Regions from separate parts of the Homo sapiens genome. Here all the other regions are linked to region 1. The links are contacts of gene promoters, found by promoter capture Hi-C in blood cells and fetal thymus (Javierre and others, 2016). All regions are on one chromosome and are shown on one strand. The core of a region is centred on a gene start or on the middle of the fragment in contact, and the rest is flanking DNA. Distances in the headings are between cores, read along the strand shown.

Region 1 (3,610 bases), core at 421-2,920:
TGGTGACCAGACAAGTTCACTAAATCTCAGCTGGGGTGGAAGTTCCTTGAGACCAGGGAATTTGAGTCACCTTGTAACCCTAAACAAAGCCAGGCATAAGTTGGATGCTTACCATATGTTAGTTAATTGAAAGAAGGAAAAACAGAGCACTGCACTGATAGAGAACAGTGACTGTGCACCTGATGTGCCGCAATGTGGTTTGGTGTTAAAAAAAATCACTCTCATTCATTACTAGTAGGAGTTCAAATGGGAACCACAGTTCCAAAAAAGCAATTTTGGCAACGTGTAATGACAGCCTTAAAACTATAAACACAAAGATGTTCCCTGCAGCCTTATTCATAATTTTTAAAAATAAAAAACAAACTAAACATCTAATAATAGGCTATGTAATCGTCCAGTAGCTCTAGTGGATGGACTATTACATTATTATAATTATTCAAATTAATATTTTCCCGCTTCTTCCCTGCTTTCCTTCAAGAGGTGGGGGAGGCCACCTGGCCCAAGCTGAAGGCCAAGATACAAGAAAAAAATGCAAAGGTTCTATTTTGGCAGCGTTTACATGGGCAGGGTGTCGTGGGGAGGCTGGCGGAGGGAGTGGGAGCAGGTGACAGAGAATATAGGGTAAGTTAGAAGGCTCTCAGTGCTGGTAAAAATAAAATAGAGTAAAGTAAAGGGTGGGGGTAGAGTTGAGGGGGGCGTGATCAGATTTCTGTTCAAATAGGATGGTCTTTTTGCTGTGAACTTAAGACTGCTCTAAGGCCAGGCGCAGTGGCTGACGCCTGTAATCCCAGCACTTTGGGAGGCCGAGGCGGGCGGATCACAAGGTCAGGAGATCGAGACCATCCTGCCTAACACGGTGAAACCCCGTCTCTACTAAAAATACAAAAAATTAGCTGGGCATGGTGGCACACGCCTGTAGTCCCAGCTACTCGGGAGGCTGAGGCAGGAGAATCGCTTGAACTTGGGAGGCAGAGGTTGCAGTGGGCTGAGATCGCGCCACTGCACTCCAGCCTGGGTGACAGAGTGAGACTCCGTCTCAAAAAAAAAAAAAAAAAAAGACTGCTCTAAAAAATAAAGTGTATTAAAAAGAAACTACGATGTTCAGTGTATGCTTCATCTACGGTCAAAGAGGCAAAGACTGAAGTGACAGTGGAAGCCAGGTGGTTATCTGGGAGGCTTACAAGACTATGTGATAGTATGGAAAATACTAGTATTAAGTGAAATGCTGGATGCAAAACTATGCATAGAGGGGAAAAACTGGAAAGAAATAGTAAACACAGCAAAAGTAGTTTGTGTGAAGGATAAATTTTTTAAAATTATTTTTTGTAGAAACAGGGTTTCTCTACATTGCCCAGGATGGTCTCAAACTCCTGGGCTCAAGCGATCAATCCTCCCACCTCGGCCTCCCAAAGTGCACAGGTGTAAGCCACCGCGCCCAGCCGAAGGATAAGGATTTTGGGTGGTGCGCTCTTTTCTCCTTTCCATTTCTGCATTTTCCAATTTACCTTTAGCGACCGTTCTTTCCTGTTAAAAAAAAAAAATTCACGACCTTGAAGAAGATACACGGGCTATGACTTCGCTGTTGTCACCGAGCGCCCCGCCCACCGCGTTCTCCGACCCGCGGCCGGCAGGGGGCTCGCGGCCTCCGCCAGGCGTCCTTCGGCTCCGTCAGTTCCCACAGGGCCTTGTGCGACATGGGCTGCGCCGAGGGCAAGGCAGTGGCGGCGGCCGCCCCAACGGAGCTGCAGACGAAAGGCAAGAACGGCGATGGCCGCCGTAGGTCAGGTACGACCGAGGGCGAAGGCCTGGTCCCCAGGTCGACGGGCCGAAGCGGGCCTTCCGGCCGGGGTTGGGGATAAAGTGCCCCGGAGCCCTGGCCTTGAAGCCCCTCACTGGAGTCAGTGACTGACCGCGCGCCACGCTGGAGACCCCAGAAACGCTCCCCCAGGTCACCCCGGGAGACGGAGGCCGGCGGCCGGCCGAGGGCTGCCCCGCCCGCTGGCTGTGAGAGAGGTGGGAGGTGGAAGGAGGAGCGGGCCCGCCGCGAGGACCTGCCCGGAAACCTGTCGGAAACCGAACCGAGATCTCGGCAGCGACCCGCCTGATTTCGCTCAGGGCCCGTTAGGGCGTCCTCTTCCTACAAGCACCGTGTTTCCAATGAAAGGTTACGGGGGAAGCGACCAAACCGACAGCCGAGTCCGGGGGTGCCCCTTCACCTCTCCAGAAGCCCCCGGCCCACTCCCAGCATCCTCCTCCATCGAGAATCTTGTCCGACACGCCTTCCCGGCCCCCTTTCTCCATCCCCTTGAATTTTGGGCACATTTCTCCCACCATCATCCCGCTTTATCCTTTCACTTGTTCTTCCAGAAGAGAAAGCTCCCAGTCTCTTCTCCATTGTCCGGATAATGCCAATAATGGCTAGTGGTTACTAAGCACTGACATGAGAGGGGCCTTTGGAAGCACTAGACATGGGTAATAATCTTGGTTCATGTTTCCAGCCATACTGAGAGATTTATCATAAACCCCATTATACAGATGAAGAAACTGAGAAGCAAAGAGGTTATAAAACTTACCCAAAGCACACAACTAGTAAGTGGAAGAGCTGGGATACCAGTTGAGGCCATCTGACTCAAAAGCCCTGGTCATAGTCATATGGCCGCCTCCACCTTTTTTATAGGCTTGAGAAAGTGAGGCTCCAAAAAGTGCCTTGCCCAATGGCTAGAATTATTAAATGCTGTAGGATCTGCCTCTTTCAAAGGCTTACAGTTTAGTTACAAGGCAGCATATGGTGAAGGGCTAAAAGGAGTGGTAAAAACAGCCAAGTGGGGATGGCAGCTCCCATAGATGAGGTAGGATTTGGTAGAGGTGTCTGAAGGGAGAACATTCTTGTTAGGGGAAGCAGCCGGTGAGACCATGCTAGAGATAGGGAGGCCTGTATATCCTGCTGGAGTTAAGGACTTGGATTAGGGGAAGGGAAGAATAAAGGAACAGGGTAGGAGCAAGGTCAGGCAAGGTCCAGGTCAGGCAGCTAATTTGTGGCCATTAGTACAATGAAGGAGTTTGAGCAGGTGCATCCCAAATTGACGTTTCATGTGCCATCCTCAGGATCTTCTTGATATCTATGTCCTTCCATTTATTTACTGTTTTTCTTTAGCTACATTCTTTTTGTGTGTGGTTAAAAAAAAAAAATTTACCATCTTAACAATTTTGTTTTTTTTTTTTTTTTAGTTTCGCTCTCGTTGCCCAGGCTGGGGTGCAATGGCGCCATCTTGGCTCACCTCAGCCTCCACCTCCCAGGTTGAAGCGATTCTCCTGCCTCAGCCTCCCAAGTAGCTGGGATTACAGGCATGCACCACCACGCCTGGCTAATTTTGTATTTTTAATAGAGACAGGTTTTCACCATGTTGGTCAGGCTGGTCTTGAACTCCTGACCTCAGGTGATCTGCCCACCTCAGCTCCCCAAAGTGCTGGGATTACAGGCATGAGCCACTGCACCCAGCTGACCCTAACCGTTTTTAAGTATACAGTTTTCAGCAGTATTAAGTATATTCACATTGTTGTGAAGCAGATCCCCTGAACTTTTTCATCTTGCAAATCTGAAACTCCATGC
Region 2 (3,610 bases), core at 548-3,047, 670 kb after region 1:
GCAAATTGCACAACAACATAAAAAAGCCAAGACCTTTGGGAACAAGAGCTTACATTTAGGCCATTGATCATTTCTTGTCTTATACCTCACTTAAAGTGGATGCAACCTTATCTTCTAAATGAGAGAAATATTCCTTGAACATACACACCAAGTCTTATTAAATATTGTTTTTATGCCACTCACTAAATAACTTAAGGCAATTTTATATGCTAAGTGAAGCTTCCTTGATGTCTCCAAAAGTCACAGAAAATTATTGCCTTTGGTTGGTTAAAGCCCTTTCTTTATTTCAAGAACATATATCTGAGACCCTTACTTCTTAAAACGAAACATGCTTTAGATTTATTTTAAAGTACACCATAAATCTGTATAGAATCCATGAACATATGTGAGGATTTGTGAATAAATGTTTGCCTCTGGCTTGGCTTATATACTCATGTTTTTTTCTTGTATTACTGTAAGTTTCTGTTTTCCTTAATTTGGCATCTAAAAATAATAAAACCACAATGAACTTTTAGCATGTCATCAACACTCACAAATCATATGTATTTACCATTTCCAGAACACAAATTTGCATTAAAACAACTCATTAGATTCCATAAATACTCTATCACTATTTATCAGGAATTACATATATGGCTCCAACTTTATACAGCATTCAGTCTAATTTTTGTGGTGATTTTTTTTTCCCTTTTGTTAACTGCCATGAAGCTACTTATTGGTGTGGGTTTCTGATGGGGAAAAACATTCCATTGGTAAATTTTAAGTACCACTTATAAGCTTATATTCTGAGATGGTTCTATACAGAGAACACTGCAGGTTGACTCCTAGCTGCTGTACACTTACAGGAAAGGACAGAAATCACAAAATATGATAAGCCTGTGTTCAACTTTTTTACTAGTAGTTATATAAACTTGGGTAACATACATAACTTCTATGATCCTTGCTTTTCTCATCTAAAATTAGAGATGATAATCCTTATTTTACAGAGTTTTAAACTCTACGAGAAAAAAGAAAGTGGGAATCATAACACATAGTAGGTATAAAACAAATGATAGTTATCCTAATCAGTCTCAACAGCAGTTCTAATGCAAATGAAGGCTACCATGGATTCATGGCATTGCTGCAACAATATTTATTTAAAGAGACTTGAGACAACACACAATATTTAGTTTTAAATCAACTTACCAAGACAGGAGTATAAGCCCTGACTTATCCAAGCCAATATGGCAAGAGTTATAAGGTCGCCAAAACTAGCAGCAATGGGTGTAGCAACATTATCAGGATTTATACCAGTCTTCTTTGAACCAACGATAACCCCAACCATTATTATTCCTAGAAGAAAGAATGTTCATTACTTTTTAGGCTATGATTTAAAGAAAATCAATCCCCCAAATACCAAAATGTGTAGGATAGAAAAACAGCATATCAATTCCAGTTAGACTGCTTAGATAAGCTGACTAAAGCAAACAAAACATTTACTCTAACGCTTTGGCAAAATGCCTTTCAACAAACTCCAAGTGGGGATCATAGAAAATTTAAGAAGTTCAGCATTGTATTTAGAGGCCTGAAAGCTACTAAAATTATGGTAAAGCTAAAATTTCAGATTTAGTGACATGTATATCTTAGATATAATGTATTTGTGTGTATTGAATCCAAAGGTTTTAATTTTAACCCTCAAATAAAGTATGAAAACATCAAAAAAAAAGGTGAGTCATATGTATATGTACAACAACTGGGAAGAAGGCCAACAAAACCAGATTTGTTTACATATGGCAGCTAGAAATGCTTATTTCATTTTATTACTTAAAGACGTTGAAGTATTAAGCAGCAGGACATAATTAAATTTTAAAACACTGAAGGCCAGAATACAAGAAACAGTCTTTGTAAAAGATATTCTTTAAACCTGAAGTTTCTGTCTATAAACCTACGAGAGAATAGAAGATGAAAATTTAACTGTGTACTTGTACTTTTACATCCTAATTTTCTTAAATTATACAAATGGGATAAAACTATTAACATTTATATCCACTCTAAATTGTGTAGATTTTGTCACACCAAGATACTCATTAAGAGGATGTAGTAAAGAGAAAACTTTAAATGTGCTAACCACAAATCAATATGAAAGCCTAAATATGGCTATGGAGAAAAACAGTAACAGAATCTCACAGCACTTTTAGAGTTAAAATGACTCTAAATGTTTTTGTTCCAGCATACTCACTTTATAGATAATAAAACTGAGGTCCTGTAGAGTAGGGCTTAAATTCTTGCCTAAAGTCACATAGCTTGTGACTCTAGCCCAGTGTTTTTTACTCTACCTATTAAAGCCAAAATTTTAATAAGCAGAATTTTTGTCTTGCATCAAACAGTGCCTTATATTTTAGTATTCTGGAGGCTTTTTAAATTACTAGACTTACCTTTCCCATAATATCATTGAAAAAGAAAAAAAGCTATAGCAGAAAACTTTTTAAAAAAAATACATTATGCAATAATCAGGCAAGATGTAATCGCTTAGAATCTTTTTCCAAAATCAGCACATTTGAAGATGTATATGGGAAGTTCTCCTACACATAGTACCATCTATATCTTTTCAACTGAAAACAAATATTTTGTATGTATCATAGTCCAGTGGAAAGAGCTAAGAGTTAGGAAACGTGTTTTAGTTCTGATTCAGCTGGTAACAAGTTGATGAGATTGGACAAGTCACCTTACCTAAGTTTTCTCACCTACAAATATGGCTAAGAGTTTCTACTTTACATATACTAAAGTGCTTATAAAGGTCAAGTTATCATAAAATTAGAACACACATTATTCAAAGTCAGAAGCTTTAAACAAATACTTTTTAAAATTCTGAATTTTGGATAGTTTTGAAAAGCTTTCAAATACTTGTTAGACTGAAAAATTTTAAATGACACTTTCTAAATGAAATAAAATCAGAAAGAAAAAAGAAGCAAATGAGCCTAAAAAAATAGCATGCTGATGGCATAATTATTTTTGTACCAACAATTTAATTTTCCAATAGCTTAACTTCACTCTGCTTTGGTCAATGTTAACTCCATTCAACTATAGTAATTCTTTATGAAGACAAGAAACTACCCCGATACAATTAAACTACTAAAACAAAATGCTTGAAAATATTTTGGAAATCGAGTTATAATTTTAATAAGATTCCCTAAATTCCCAGAACCTAGCCAAAAAAGTTAGCTGCATTGTATGATCACCTAACATGACAATAATCCACTTTAAACTTTGCTGGTGATATAAGGGCAAGAAAATGGCAATTATAAAATAAAAAGAACAAAGTCTTTATGATTGTGATTCCACAATAAGCTAATTCTCTAGTGTAAAGTTCATACGAATAAATATAAAGAAAAATAACCCAAATAAAAGTTCTAAAGTAGTTAATTTTTAAAACCTTCTGGCTCTTTAAATTCTATAGCCAACAATATGCTATCTTAAGTATAAGGTTATATTTGTATTGCCACAGAAACAGGGAAGAAATTTTTCTTGAAATCTGAAACAAAAAAATTTCAACAGAGGATGACTTTTGAAACCCAGAATTCCTGGAACACTTGTTACTCAAGTGACAAGCTAGTAAATCCCCTGCATGATG
Region 3 (3,610 bases), core at 285-2,784, 650 kb after region 1:
AAGAAGCTATCCTCAACATTAAATCTCTGGAAGGACATCTGAAGCTGAAAAACGCACCCACCACACCCACCCCAGAATCACTGCCCTGAATTTTCAAAGAGGAGAAAAAATACCTTAGGAAAGAAACTAAAAATAATGAGCAGGCAGTTCCTTAAAAAGTTAAACAGAGTTTAACTTGACCCAGCAATTCTACTCCTTCATGTACACCCAACAGAATGGAAAACATATTTACATAAAAACTTGTACATTACATAAAAACTTGAATGTTCATAGCAGCACTATGCATAATGGCCAAAAAGTAGAAGCAACCTAAATGTTCATCAAATGGTGAATAGATAAACAAAACTTAGTATATCCATAAATGGACTATTACTTGGCCATTTCATTAATCCATACAATTGGATGTTACTCTGCACTTCATATGATTCAAAAATGATGCATGTGACAACGTGATGAACCTTGAAAACATTATGCTAAGTGAAAGATGCCAGACTCAAAAGGTCACATATCAAATGATTACTTTTACATACAAGCCCAGAATAGGCAAATCCGAAGAGAAGGTAGATTGGTGATTGTTAGAGGAGGGGTGGGATGAGGAATAACTGCTAAAGTATTCTGTTTTGTTTACAGATAGGGTCTCACTTTGTCACCAAGGATGGCGTGCAGTGGCATAATCTTGGCTCAGTGCAGCCTCAAATCCCTGGGCTCAAGTGATCCTCCCATCTCAGCCTCCCAAAGTGCTGGGATTACAGGCATGAGCCACCATGTCAGGCCCAGCGTTTCTGTTTGAGGTGATGAAAATGTTCTGGAATTAGATCACGGTGATCCTTGTACAACCTTATGAATATGCCAAAAACCACTGAATTGTATACTTTAAAAAAGTGAATTACATGGCATGTGAATTACATCCAATTTTTAAAAATCCTCACAGAGGGGAAAACAGGAAGGAGGACTACATTCTTCAAAAATGTCTGTCATTAAAGACAAAGGATATACACACGTACATAGACAAAGAGAGAGAACAAAAGATAAAGCAAATGGGGTAAAATGTTAACCTTAGGTGAATCCAGATAAAGAGTATGCAGGGGTTTTTTTTGTACTGTTTTGATTTTTGCAACTATTCTATAAACATATAATTATCTTCAAATAAAAGTTTGTTAAATGTTAAAAAGGTGGGAAAACCATGATAAAACCCAAATTTCCAAATGTTTACTGTAAATGTATTCTACTTCAATTACCTGCCAAATCCAACATGCCCATTCCCACCAAATTAGACCATATGGATAATTCTATAGGACCCTCCTAACTTATTCCTGGCTAACTTCTAATCCAATTTTGATAGGTAGGGAAAATTACAAATATATAAAAAGAGATGCTACAAACATTTCTCTTTTTTGGATATACTGGTGTTTTATAGATGTCATAAAATTAAAGAATTACTTTTAGAAAACCACCAATGACACAATCAACAGAGCAAATAGTCAATTAAAGGCCAACTATGAACTTCCACATTAATATTAAAATGTAAAATCATCTTCCTTCTAAATGAAACACATTTAAAAGATCCTGGTTAAAATAATATTTTGTATTAAAATCTGGGTATATCATAATGGGTATTAGGGTAGGATGAATAAAATCTAGTAATAATTCACAGGACCTGTGAATGCTACCTTATACGGCAAAAGGGGCTTTGTAGAAATGATTAAGTCAAGAATTTTGGGATGGGAATATTATCCTGGATTATTTGTGTGACCCCTAAATATAATTGCAGGTATAGGAGGGAGGCAGGAGCAGATGTGGCTGCAGAAGAGAAGAAAGCAATGTGACCACAGAAACAGAGATTGGAGTCATACAGCTACCAGCCGAGAACACCGGCAGGCAGCTGCCAGAAGATGGAAGAGGCAAGGAACAGATTCTCCCCAAGACCAGAAGGATCCAATCCTGATGACACCTTGATTTTATTCCTATATAACTCATTTTGAATTTATACTTAATTGTAATTGTTCTGGTTTCCAGAACTGTAAAAACAAAACAAACAAAAAAACCCAAAAAACATTTCTATTGTCTTAAGCCACAAGGTTTGTGCTAATTTGTTACAATGGCAATAGATAACTAATACATGCATATTTAAAACTTCTTGGAATTTTAAGCCTAATAAATGTCCATTATACATTAATACTGACTCTGTGATATAGGCAAACTACGGAAAAGTAAAGATTAACACAGCTAAAGTGGTTCAAATCGCTCTGATGCCTCCTAACTGGCAAACATAACTAGCATCTTTTGTGATCCAGTTTTCACATTTTATATTGTTGACGGCATTTCCCAACTGCTGTTATATCATTTCATTAATAGTGTTCATCATTCTCACCCCAAATTCTTCTGAAACATGTAGCTGTTATGATTGACAATTTTTATGTATTAGCTGTTTCTATGTAAACAACAAAGCAATGGGCACTGTAAGTTGTGATTTTTTTCTAAATGCCCCTTAATAATTGATCTAAATTTTCTGAGGGAACTGATACTCTAGAAATCACTCTAACCTAAGATGGTACTGTGCTAAAAATCCCTCAAGCATAGAGACATTCAAGATAAATTTAGATTCTACTCACACCACCACATTAAGGCAGAGATATTCTAGAATGGTCTGTAAATAACCAGGTGGCATCCTTGTTAGTCTCCATAGGAATGCAGTAACCTGAGGCTAATTGCTACTGCTCTTACAGCTTCAGCTAAGCCATCTGTTTAAAGTTAATCTTGAAAAATGAAAAATCAATCAACATTTTGCCTCTCAGATCTCGCCTACAAAGAGAATATCTAATAATTTTTTCAAATCAATAAATATCATGTACACACAAGAATTAGATAGCCATGCAGTTATAAATATGTGAAAAAGAATTTTTTAAATCTTCTTGGAACTTATGCAAACAGAAAGAAAGGAGCAACAATCATGTGAACATATATATATTCCAGTTACTGGCCCAATGTTGAATCTTGTTAATAGCTTTTAAAGATTACTGTATGTTTAAAGATTACTATACGAATGTATAAATGCCTTTATATTGTCCCTGCAAGCCACACAAAAGTATATCAGAATCCAGAGCTTAGATTACTCTCTGAACTTTCTATTTCCATTTGAAATAGATCTTTTCTAGCCATGTGTTGCCATTTTTATTTTTCTATAGTGGTACTAATTCCCAGATACTTTCTGCTAAGATATCCTTCCAATATTTCCCCAATACTATATCCTCATCAAAATGATTTTTTGTTACAATCTATTATGTTATTGGACAATTACTGTGCCAAAATCATTCTGAATAACTTCTAATCACGTTAATTGGAGTGCTTTCAAAAGGAATAAAGCATTTGGTGAAGTACTGTTTATTAAACATCTGTTTTGTATATGGCACTATAGGGTGCTACAAAGAAATAAAATAAGAACGCAGTTTTGTCCTTAAGAAGCTTATATCCTCATAAGAGAAGGTATAACATTTATAGAAAAAGCTATAATGACCAGCCACACATTAAACATGTCACAAGAGAAGTGTCAATTAAGTGTTATAGGAATTCAGAGGAGAAAAAAGATCACTTAAGACTAGGAAAATCTATA

The links. The method cuts DNA at HindIII sites, captures the fragments that hold promoters and counts their contacts. A CHiCAGO score of 5 or more calls a contact.
Region 2: a contact is called between a fragment that was not itself captured here and the fragment with the promoter of TXNRD1 in region 1, in 13 of 17 cell types (erythroblasts, activated CD4 T cells, M2 macrophages and 10 more). The highest score is 10.0, in erythroblasts.
Region 3: a contact is called between a fragment that was not itself captured here and the fragment with the promoter of TXNRD1 in region 1, in 9 of 17 cell types (naive CD4 T cells, activated CD4 T cells, endothelial precursors and 6 more). The highest score is 7.5, in naive CD4 T cells.

What each region holds. Positions count from the first base shown.
Region 1 is chr12:104,214,109-104,217,718 of GRCh38, forward strand. TXNRD1 (thioredoxin reductase 1) reads left to right here and starts at 1,671. Exons shown (of 17, transcript NM_001093771.3): 1 at 1,671-1,785. The coding sequence starts at 1,695. RefSeq lists enhancers at 1,447-2,063, 2,064-2,679 and a silencer at 1,534-1,623. The HindIII fragment of the contact is 5,942 bases long and covers 1-3,610 here.
Region 2 is chr12:104,885,108-104,888,717 of GRCh38, forward strand. It overlaps SLC41A2 (solute carrier family 41 member 2), which reads right to left. Exons shown (of 11, transcript NM_001352171.3): 6 at 1,186-1,332. Among named protein-coding and RNA genes, the nearest start is that of SLC41A2, 71 kb to the right of the region's middle. The HindIII fragment of the contact is 2,045 bases long and covers 776-2,820 here.
Region 3 is chr12:104,868,391-104,872,000 of GRCh38, forward strand. All of the region lies in intron 6 of SLC41A2 (solute carrier family 41 member 2), which reads right to left. Among named protein-coding and RNA genes, the nearest start is that of SLC41A2, 88 kb to the right of the region's middle. The HindIII fragment of the contact is 3,851 bases long and covers 1-3,460 here.